Linked DNA regions of Homo sapiens: all the other regions are linked to region 1. Evidence: promoter capture Hi-C in 16 types of primary human blood cells and fetal thymus (Javierre and others, 2016). All regions are on one chromosome and are shown on one strand. Each heading gives the region's core, a stretch centred on a gene start or on the middle of the fragment in contact. The rest is flanking DNA. Distances are from core to core; before and after follow the strand shown.

Region 1 (2,948 bases), core at 103-2,602:
AATGAAGATGGTTTAAATCAGATCTCATGACTAATGCATAAGATCCAAAGTTCTTTTATTCCTGGCTATTTTAGAAAACTGGGGTGTATTTTTACCCTAAAAACTAATTCTTAAGATTTATTGAAATAATACAAAATGACTTATAATTAACATCTCACAATCAAGATTTATAGTTTACTGATTATTAGAGAAATAATAATTTCTCCATCTTAATTTTTAAAAATATGTATATGCAATGGTTTAAGTCCATATTCAAGAATATTTGATCCTTAGTTGTTATTTTTGTTTTTAGATAATATCGGGAAAGATAATGTGCTTTAATAAAATGGAAAGTTTAGATTGATTTCTGCAGTTGCTAGTCCATTTTAATTGTACTTATTGTGAATTCATTGAAATGGAAAGAAATATATCCAGCAATAAAGTAGGCCTGTTATTTTTGCTTGTTTTTGTTTTGGTCATGACAAACTGTGAAATGCTGTGTTTTTTCTATAGTTCTAGTCTATGAAATCTGCAATCTTTCCACTTGATTTACGAAGGACCTTAATTACTGCTGTCATTAGCACCTAGTGTTCAAAACAGTCTGTTTAAATGTACTGTTAGTCTCACCTCCAAGTCCCTGCTTGCTTTATTTTTTTCCAAGGGTAAGTAAAACAATAATTGACTTAGTAACAACAATCATTATGTACAGTGAGTTAAATATTACACATTTTTGATGCCTATTTCTATTTATTTAGAATTTGGTATTTGTGTGTTCAGTCTGGCCTAGACTTGGAACAAGTGTCCGTAAGTAGCGCTGTTACTAGCGCAGACTTATTACCTGGGTTTTAAAAACAAGTCACTCATTTGCCTTTTTCTTTCCACATGGATAGGGATGACAGACAACTGCTGTAAAGCTTCAATGTTTCTGCCTGGTCATGCACAGTTCTGCAATATAATGCATAAATGTATAACAACAACTTGGGATCGCTTGATACTTTCCTTGGAATAAGGAAACCCTACCAGGCGCGTCCCCGCGCACGCGCGCGCGCATACACAGACACACACACTCACACACGCTCTCACGCACACACACAGGTCAAAAGTTGATTTATTTCTGAGATCCCCCCAGAATCTTTCTTCTCTCCGTCGCCGACGGCTCTGGGCTTCTCGGCGGGGCGGTAGTGTGGTTGGGGGCGTAGGAGGGGCGCCGGGCGCCGAGGCGACGGAGACGGGAGCCGGGTGCTGGTGCGTGCCGCGCCCGCTCCTGCCGGGTGAGAGTCCGGGCCGGGTTTTGCGCCGTGTCCGCGGGCCTGTCTCACGGCCTCCAGCCGCCGCCGCTGCCGTGTTTACTGAGCTCGCGCGTCCTGATATCACTCCGCTGGCATGGAGGAGGAGGAGGAGGTGGAGGAGCGAGAGGAGGAGGAGGAGGCGGCGGCGGCGGCGGCGGCGAGCAGTTGATCATTGTGATGGTGGCAGGAGCAGCGGCGGCAGCGGCAGCCCAGCCGAGCGTTAGGTGCTGCTCTCTGCGCGGCGTTTTGCAAAGGACTTCACCGATCTACTTTTGCAGTCGCCTCGGACTGTCCATGTGTTTACTTCCCCCAGCCCGAGGATTCGATATCTAGGTTCCTGTGAAATGCAACTGAGCAGCCAAAGTACTTTGAGAACACGGGGCGGCATAAACACCAAAACTTTTTTGTGGAAGGAAAATGCAATAAGCAAGCTTGCCGTTTTCCGATGCGGTGTGGAGTGAGTGTGTGTCGCGCGTGTCCGCACTGGAGGCATATGCTTGTGTGTGTACATGGGGTGTGTTTTTCGGTATGTAGGGAGAAAATGCTTGCCAACCACCGGAAATCTCCTGGAATTTATTAGAAAATAATGGATTATAAAAAGAAGGCAAGCAAGGAGCGGATCTCCCCTTGAGTTGCAACCCGATTTGCTGCTGGCTCAGTTTGTTGTGATTCTTTTTGTTGATAGGTGTCTGATGGTATTCCGATAACGTTCCCCCCTTTTCTTCCCCTTGAGCTTTTACAGTTTAAAAAAAGGAAACAAAAACCACCCCAAAATCTCCCCCCCCGTTTTTTTCGCCCCGTCGGGATCGCCGTTTCCATCCATGTGCTTGCGTCTCCCCCGCGTTCCACTTAAACTATTTTAATCCTTGGACCCAAGGAGGAGGCTGATAGGGGGGTGGATAAAAAAAGTTCTTCCAAAATAGTGTGCCCGGGGAGCAGGATGGGGGATTTCGCAGCCCCCGCTGCTGCCGCGAATGGCAGTAGTATTTGCATCAACAGTAGCCTGAACAGCAGCCTCGGCGGGGCCGGGATCGGTGTGAATAATACTCCCAATAGTACTCCCGCTGCTCCGAGTAGCAATCACCCGGCAGCCGGTGGATGCGGCGGCTCCGGGGGCCCCGGCGGCGGTTCGGCGGCCGTTCCCAAGCACAGCACCGTGGTGGAGCGGCTCCGCCAGCGCATCGAGGGCTGCCGTCGGCACCACGTCAACTGCGAGAACAGGTACCAGCAGGCTCAGGTGGAGCAGCTGGAGCTGGAGCGCCGGGACACCGTGAGCCTCTACCAGCGGACCCTGGAGCAGAGGGCCAAGAAATCGGGCGCCGGCACCGGCAAACAGCAGCACCCGAGCAAACCCCAGCAAGATGCGGAGGCTGCCTCGGCGGAGCAGAGGAACCACACGCTGATCATGGTGAGGGCGCACGGGCAGCGGGCTTGCGGCGCGCGTTGGGGGTGGTGGTGGTGGTGGGGGGCGCGTGGAGCTTCTTACATGGGGGTACAAGGGTCTGATTTGCACGGTGGGTGAGGTGGGCTGAAGCCTAAGGGTTAACGTCAACTTTTCTTAGGGAAAAAGCTGCCGTCGTCGCTACCTGTTAATCTGTCAGGGTTGTCAGATTTGGGGAGGAGGGGGCGAGAGGGGAGAAGCCAGTCACGACTGCGAGGGGCGGAGGGAGCCTAGAGGAG
Region 2 (2,966 bases), core at 298-2,797, 520 kb after region 1:
GTTTCCTCCTGTCCAGGGCATCTGAAACCACCCTCACAGGTTAACAAGAATGACAAGCCATGCTTTAGGCAGAATTTTAGTTAGGCATTGACCAGGGTGCACAGGTGCACTTTGACCCACTTCCCTGCACCAGCTAACTAACCGAGAGTCACAGAGCAGGCTGACCACCAGCTCCTCTATTGTTCCTATCGATGGAATCTGTGACATTTGACCTTTTTACCCAAGAACTGCTTAAAGTGTTTTTCAGAACCTGAATTCCTGCAGAACGGCTGCCACCAATCGGTTTAAAGACCCCCACCAAGAAACTCACTCAGCACAGGAATGTTGTTTCTTCATCTCCCTGTCCCATGACTTCACTCCTCACTTCTGGACCAATCAACAATCCCCACACTTTAGCCATTTGCCCATACAGAGCCCTTAAAAACCTCATCCCCAATCCTCTCAGGGAGGTGGATTTGAGGTTTCCTCTTGTCTCCTCATTTGGCTGCCCTACCATTATTAAACCCTTTCTCTGTTGCAACTCCTTCTGTTTTGGTGTATTGATCTATTACTGCACAATGGGAAATCAAACCTGGTGTTCCTATAATATATATGATCCTCTGGCCCCCTCTTGCAAGCCTATAGGGAAATACTCTTAAATTCATGTACAGTGAATGTACATGCAGCATGCAGTCCTCTTTTCACAATCCCTGCCCCTGTGGCATCTCATTCTTATTTTTAAAAGTCTTTTCAAGGTATTTCCCAAAGAAAAGAGTCATCAGTCTTTATGATGAATTCTGCTCCTTCTCAGAAACGCATAATTGCAATAATCATAGAATTATTTTGATAAAGAACTTCATAATGTTGCTGTTACTCAAGACAAAATGACATCATGTAGGTGACAGTGTCGGAAATCTGAAAAGCACTTTTGTAATTCAAGTATAAAAGGAGAGAAATATTACATACAATCCCACAACCTAGTCTAGTTAAAAGATGATCCAAAAACTGAAGATCCATTGGTCTACAAGTCCTCAGACATGGCAAACTTGAAGAAACTGGGCTGTGGCTACATGCAATGCTCAGTTGAATGCATACTTAAATAAATGAAAGAAGTGTGCATAGGGTGTAACACAAGGAGATACTTAACTAGGCAGATTTTAGCCATTCCATTGAAAAATGTTTCAGAATCATCATGGAAGCCAGGCTAGGTTGGAGAATGAATGGGAGTGAGAAAATGGAGAAATCAGCATGGCTTTTGTTTTCCTAGAAGTTGAGTGTGAAAAGGAGAAAGACAGCATAGTAACCACTTAGTTTCAGCCATAACACTCCATGGCATGATCCACACTCTCCTCTGAAGTCTGGTTTTTTCACACTCATCCTGTCTCCTAGAGAAGATCCTAATAAAGGGTCCCTTCCAGCATCCAGCTCTCCATTCCTCAAGTGCATTGGGCCATGTCAGACCATTTCCTGAGTTAAGCTTAGTGTAACTGGAGAGACAAGTAAAAGGGACAGGCGTGCAAACATGGAAAGAAAAGCAGGGAGGTATGCTATGGACTAGACTGTGTCCTTCCCAAAAACCCTATGTTGAAGCCCTAATCACCACTGTGACTGTGTTTGGAGTTAAGGCCTTTTAGGAAGTGATTTCCTTAAAGAAGCTTCGAGGATCACTTGAGATTAAATAAGGCCAGAAGAGGAGGGCCCTCCTCCAATAGGACTGGTGTCTTTATAAGAAGAGGAAGAGACACCAAAAGGAAAGGCCATGTGAGGACATGGCAAGAAGGCAGCTAGCCGCAAGCCAGGAAGAGAGGCCTGCTGGCACCTTGACCCTGGATTTCCAGCCTCCAGAACTGTGAGAAAATAAAGTTCTGCTATTTAAGCCACCCAGTCTGTGGTATTTTGTTATGGCAGCCTGAGTAGACTAACATAGGATGGTTAAGAAAAACAAACAAACAAACAAACAAACCTACAGTCATCCTTGGTTATATACAGGGTATTGGTTCCAGGACCCCCACAGATATCAAAATCCGAACATACTCAAGTCCATACTCAAGTCCTACAGAACCCATGTGAAAAGCCAGTCCTCAGGTTTTGCATCCTGGGAATACTGTATTATCGATTAGCTTTGGTTGAAAAAAAAAATCCAAGTATAAGTGGACCCTTGAAGTTCAAACCCGTGTTGAACTGTACAGTGCAGGGGTCAACTGTAATAATAAAGGAGGAGGAGGGGGGAGGGATAGCTTTAGGAGATATACCTAATGCTAAATGACGAGTTAATGGGTGCAGCACACCAGCATGGCACATGTATACATATGTAACTAACCTGCACATTGTGCACATGTACCCTAAAACTTAAAGTATAATAATAATAAAATAAAATAAAAATAAAAAAGAGCAGTAAAAAAAATATAATGATAATAATAAAGGAGGGAACTTGTACTTTGTACTTTTCTTCACAATTTTGGGTAGGTCTGGCTCTAATGGCATAACTTGAGAGAGAAAGGGAGAAGGGGAGTATGTGACACATGTCAATCTGTCACAGCACAGGACACCGGCTCCCACCGGCCTCACCCTCCCTCCCCATCCCTATTTGCTGTCCTCCACTCCCTGGGCTTCTTGGCTGCTGGTCAGCCTCAGAGGTTGCTTAGTTTTAAAATATCCCTGCTTAGACGGCTAATGTTCCGTGGTGGGACTCGTGGATTTTTTTTTCTTCTGATTTATGCTAGGATCAAAAGAAGCTTTAGAGTCTTTCCTGTTGCTATCGACCCATTGAGATCGGCTCTGCAGCCAGAGGCCTCGCTGTGATCCGCCGAACGCCAGGGATTAGTGAAGATTCCACAAGAGATTTGAACAGTACCCAGTGAGTACACCTTGCATTCGTCTTTGAAAGTATATTATGGACCCAAAGTGGTGTATCACCCACAAATTCTTCCTCCTCCTTTTCTTTCTAACCTTAGGGGAGCAAGGCATTAATTAGTTAAACAGTCGAG
Region 3 (3,197 bases), core at 12-2,511, 860 kb after region 1:
TTAAAAAAATTTTCAGGCCGGACGTGGTGGCTCACACCTGTAATCCCAGCACTTTGGGAGGCCAAGGTGGGCGGATCACGAGGTCAAGAGATCCAGACCATCCTGGCTAACACAGTGAAACCTCGTCTCTACCAAAAATACAAAAAAAATTAGCCAGGTGTAGCGAAGGGCGCCTGTAGTCCCAGCTGTTCAGGAGGCTGAGACAGCAGAATGGTGTGAACCCGGGAGGTGGAGCTTGCAGTGAGCCGAGATCGTGCTACCGCACTCCAGCCTGGGAGATACAGCGAGACTCTGTCTCAAAAAAAAAAAAAAAAAAAAAAAAAAAAATTCACACCACATGCTTTACACATAAACTTGCGTTTAATCATTTCAACAACACTACGTGGCACCTACTATTGTTGACCCGTTACAGATAAGAAACACTTGGAGAAACTAGTTTGCTGAACCCAGTTCTCCTGACTTCAGAGGCCACACTATCCTAGAAAAGACTGTGAAACACTGCCTCTGTTGGGATAAAATTTCTTTTTAAAGTTAAAGTATCTGCTATATTAATATTTAAAATTTTGTTTTTTATCTAATGGGTTTGGGACTTCCTCCACTGTCCCCCAGCTCTAAGATATTTTAAATTTTCTTGTTGAAGTGGTTCAGATTTTTGACTTGGAAAGGGGTGAGAGATTTTGAGTCACTTACAACTTAATAGTAACTCATCTTTTTGAATAATGTTGCTTATAATGAATTTTATACATTCTTAATTTAAGGTTTTCTCTAACAAGAAGCTTAATTACTGCTGAGAGCACTAGTGATTGAACTTGGATCTTTGATTGCCATGAATGTCATCGTATATAAGCCATTTTTCCAGTTGCATATTCTGTCAGACAGTGGTCCTAAAAATGTGACTGTCCTCCATGACATCTAATTAATACACATACAGTTTCGTGATGGGGTTGGTCATTCAATCAAGGTATCCTACTTCTAAGATTAGAAGCATAACACGCACCCACCAACCAGCCTGGATCCCATTTAATAACCAAGTTGTGCTGTATCATATTGATTTACCCCTTCATGATAAGCCATTTCATTACGTTTATTACCCACCAAATGAGGTAAAATTTTTGGCAGTAGTTTAATTTAAATTTTTGGCCAGGTGCGGTGGCTCATGCCTGTAATCCCAACACTTTGGGAGGCCGAGGCGGGTGGATCACCTGAGCTCAGAGTTCGAGACCAGCCTGGCCAACATGGTGAAACCCCATCTCTACTAAAGATACAAAAATTAGCCAGGCGTGGTGGCAGGCGCCTGTAATCCCAGCTATTCAGGAGGTTGAGGCAGGAGAATCGCTTGAACCCAGAAGAAGGAGGTTGCAGTGAGCCAAGATCACGCCATTCCACTCCAGCCTGGGGTGGAGCAAAACTCCGTCTCTAAATAAATAAATAAATATATATATATATATTTAAGGGCTCCCTTCTCAAATTTAGGATGTCACATTGTGGTGAGCAAGTTTATACCATTCCTGGTTTTTGAACTTTTGGATCTCTTAGCCTTTTATTTCTAACTAGAATAGTTGTTTATTTTTTCTATCCTTATTCCTTTACAAAATATAAGTATCCAGGAAGATTACATTTCTAATTTTAACTGTTTAACTCTTTGTAGCTCATCAAACAACACAATGAAGATATTTTAGAGTACAAAAGAAGAAATGGGCTGGAATAAACTTTTGAAACACTAATGTAGTAAGTATACAAGCTTATTGGATGAATAGATTATGCAAATTAACTTGACCTCTTTTTTAAATACTGAAAAACAAGCTTGTTGTTTGTTTTGTATTAGGTTTATACATTTTAGCACCCATATTTCTGTCTGTGACAAATTTATAAATTTGTAATACCTTGCCTCAAGCAGTTGGTTTTGTTTTGGGGGGGATGGGGTTTTTTTTGTTTGTTGTTTGTTTGTTTGTAGACCTGTTGGCCAGGCTGGTCTCACTCCTTGCCTCAGCTTCTGAAAATGTTGGAATTATAGGTATGAGCCACTTTGCTAGCCTCAAGAATCTTTTAGCGTAATCATTTTTAATCATTAGTCTTTGACTCTGTTCAAAGAAAGGTATGTTTAAGAATGAAACCAAAATCTGCCAGGCGCGGTGGCTCACGCCTGTAATCCCAGCACTTTGGGAGGCCGAGGCGGGTGGATCACAAGGTCAGGAGATCAAGACCATCCTGGCTAACACAGTGAAACACCGTCTCTACCAAAAATACAAAAAAATTAGCCAGGTGTTGTGGCGGGCGCCTGTAGTCTCAGCTACTCGCGAGGCTGAGGCAGGAGAATGGCGTGAACCCGGGAGGCAGAGTTTGCAGTGAGCCAAGATCGTGCCACTGCACTCCAGCCTGGGTGACAGAGTGAGACTCCTTCTCAAAAAAAAAAAAAGAATGAACCCAAAATCATATTATTTTCTTAAATCTGATAGTGCTTTACACTTTGCTTTCATAGCACTTATGACAAATTATTATTCTTCGTGTGTGTATTTCTTAATGTCTGTTTGGTATCTTGTACACTTGAGTGTGAATTCCATGAGAACAGAAACCTATTTTATTAATTATCCTTTATTCAGCAACTTGCTCATCTGGTCCATTTAGGAGTTTAATATTTGTAGAAGTGATGAATGTATAACGGCAATCGATTCTTTTTATTTTATTTTATTTTTTGAGACGGAGCCACCAGGCTGGAGTGCAGTGGCACAATCTTGGCTCACTGCAACCTCCGCCTCCCAGGTTCAAGCAATTCTCCTGCCTCAGCCTCTCGAGTAGCTGGGACTACAGGTGCGCGCTACCACGCCCAGCTAATTTTTGTATTTTTGATAGAGACGGGCTTTTCCCATGTTGGCCAGGATGGTCTCCATCTCTTGACCTCGTGATCTGCCCGCCTCGGCCTCCCAAAGTGCTGGGATTACAGGCGTGAGCCACTGCGCCTGGCCAGAGCAATCAATTTTTAAATTTTTTTCTGCATGACTATTTCATTATGATTGTCAACTCAACTAATACCCAGTTGGACAGTTCCTGGTAAAAAACCTAGTTATGAACAAGATAGTTTATTCTGCATGGTCTGTGATTTAAAAGAGAAAGTTTATTATATATATATATATAAAATATATACATCTGGCTGGGCGCAGTGGCTCACGCCTGTAATCCTAACACTTTGAGAGGCTGAG

Evidence for each region. Contacts are between HindIII fragments. The CHiCAGO score rates a contact against its expected background, and 5 or more counts as called.
Region 2: a fragment that was not itself captured here is called in contact with the fragment with the promoter of MAML3 in region 1 in 1 of 17 cell types (M1 macrophages); the score reaches 5.8 in M1 macrophages.
Region 3: a contact is called between a fragment that was not itself captured here and the fragment with the promoter of MAML3 in region 1, in 2 of 17 cell types (fetal thymus and total CD4 T cells). The highest score is 6.4, in fetal thymus.

Annotation. Positions count from the first base shown.
Region 1 is chr4:140,152,588-140,155,535 of GRCh38, reverse strand. MAML3 (mastermind like transcriptional coactivator 3) reads left to right here and starts at 1,352. Exons shown (of 5, transcript NM_018717.5): 1 at 1,352-2,676. The coding sequence starts at 2,209. The HindIII fragment of the contact is 806 bases long and covers 896-1,701 here.
Region 2 is chr4:139,628,412-139,631,377 of GRCh38, reverse strand. No RefSeq gene overlaps it. Among named protein-coding and RNA genes, the nearest start is that of QKILA, 6.6 kb to the right of the region's middle. The HindIII fragment of the contact is 178 bases long and covers 1,459-1,636 here.
Region 3 is chr4:139,291,061-139,294,257 of GRCh38, reverse strand. NDUFC1 (NADH:ubiquinone oxidoreductase subunit C1) reads left to right here. Exons shown (of 6, transcript NM_001184989.2): 5 at 1,649-1,728. The coding sequence ends at 1,708. Among named protein-coding and RNA genes, the nearest start is that of NAA15, 8.8 kb to the left of the region's middle. The HindIII fragment of the contact is 965 bases long and covers 779-1,743 here.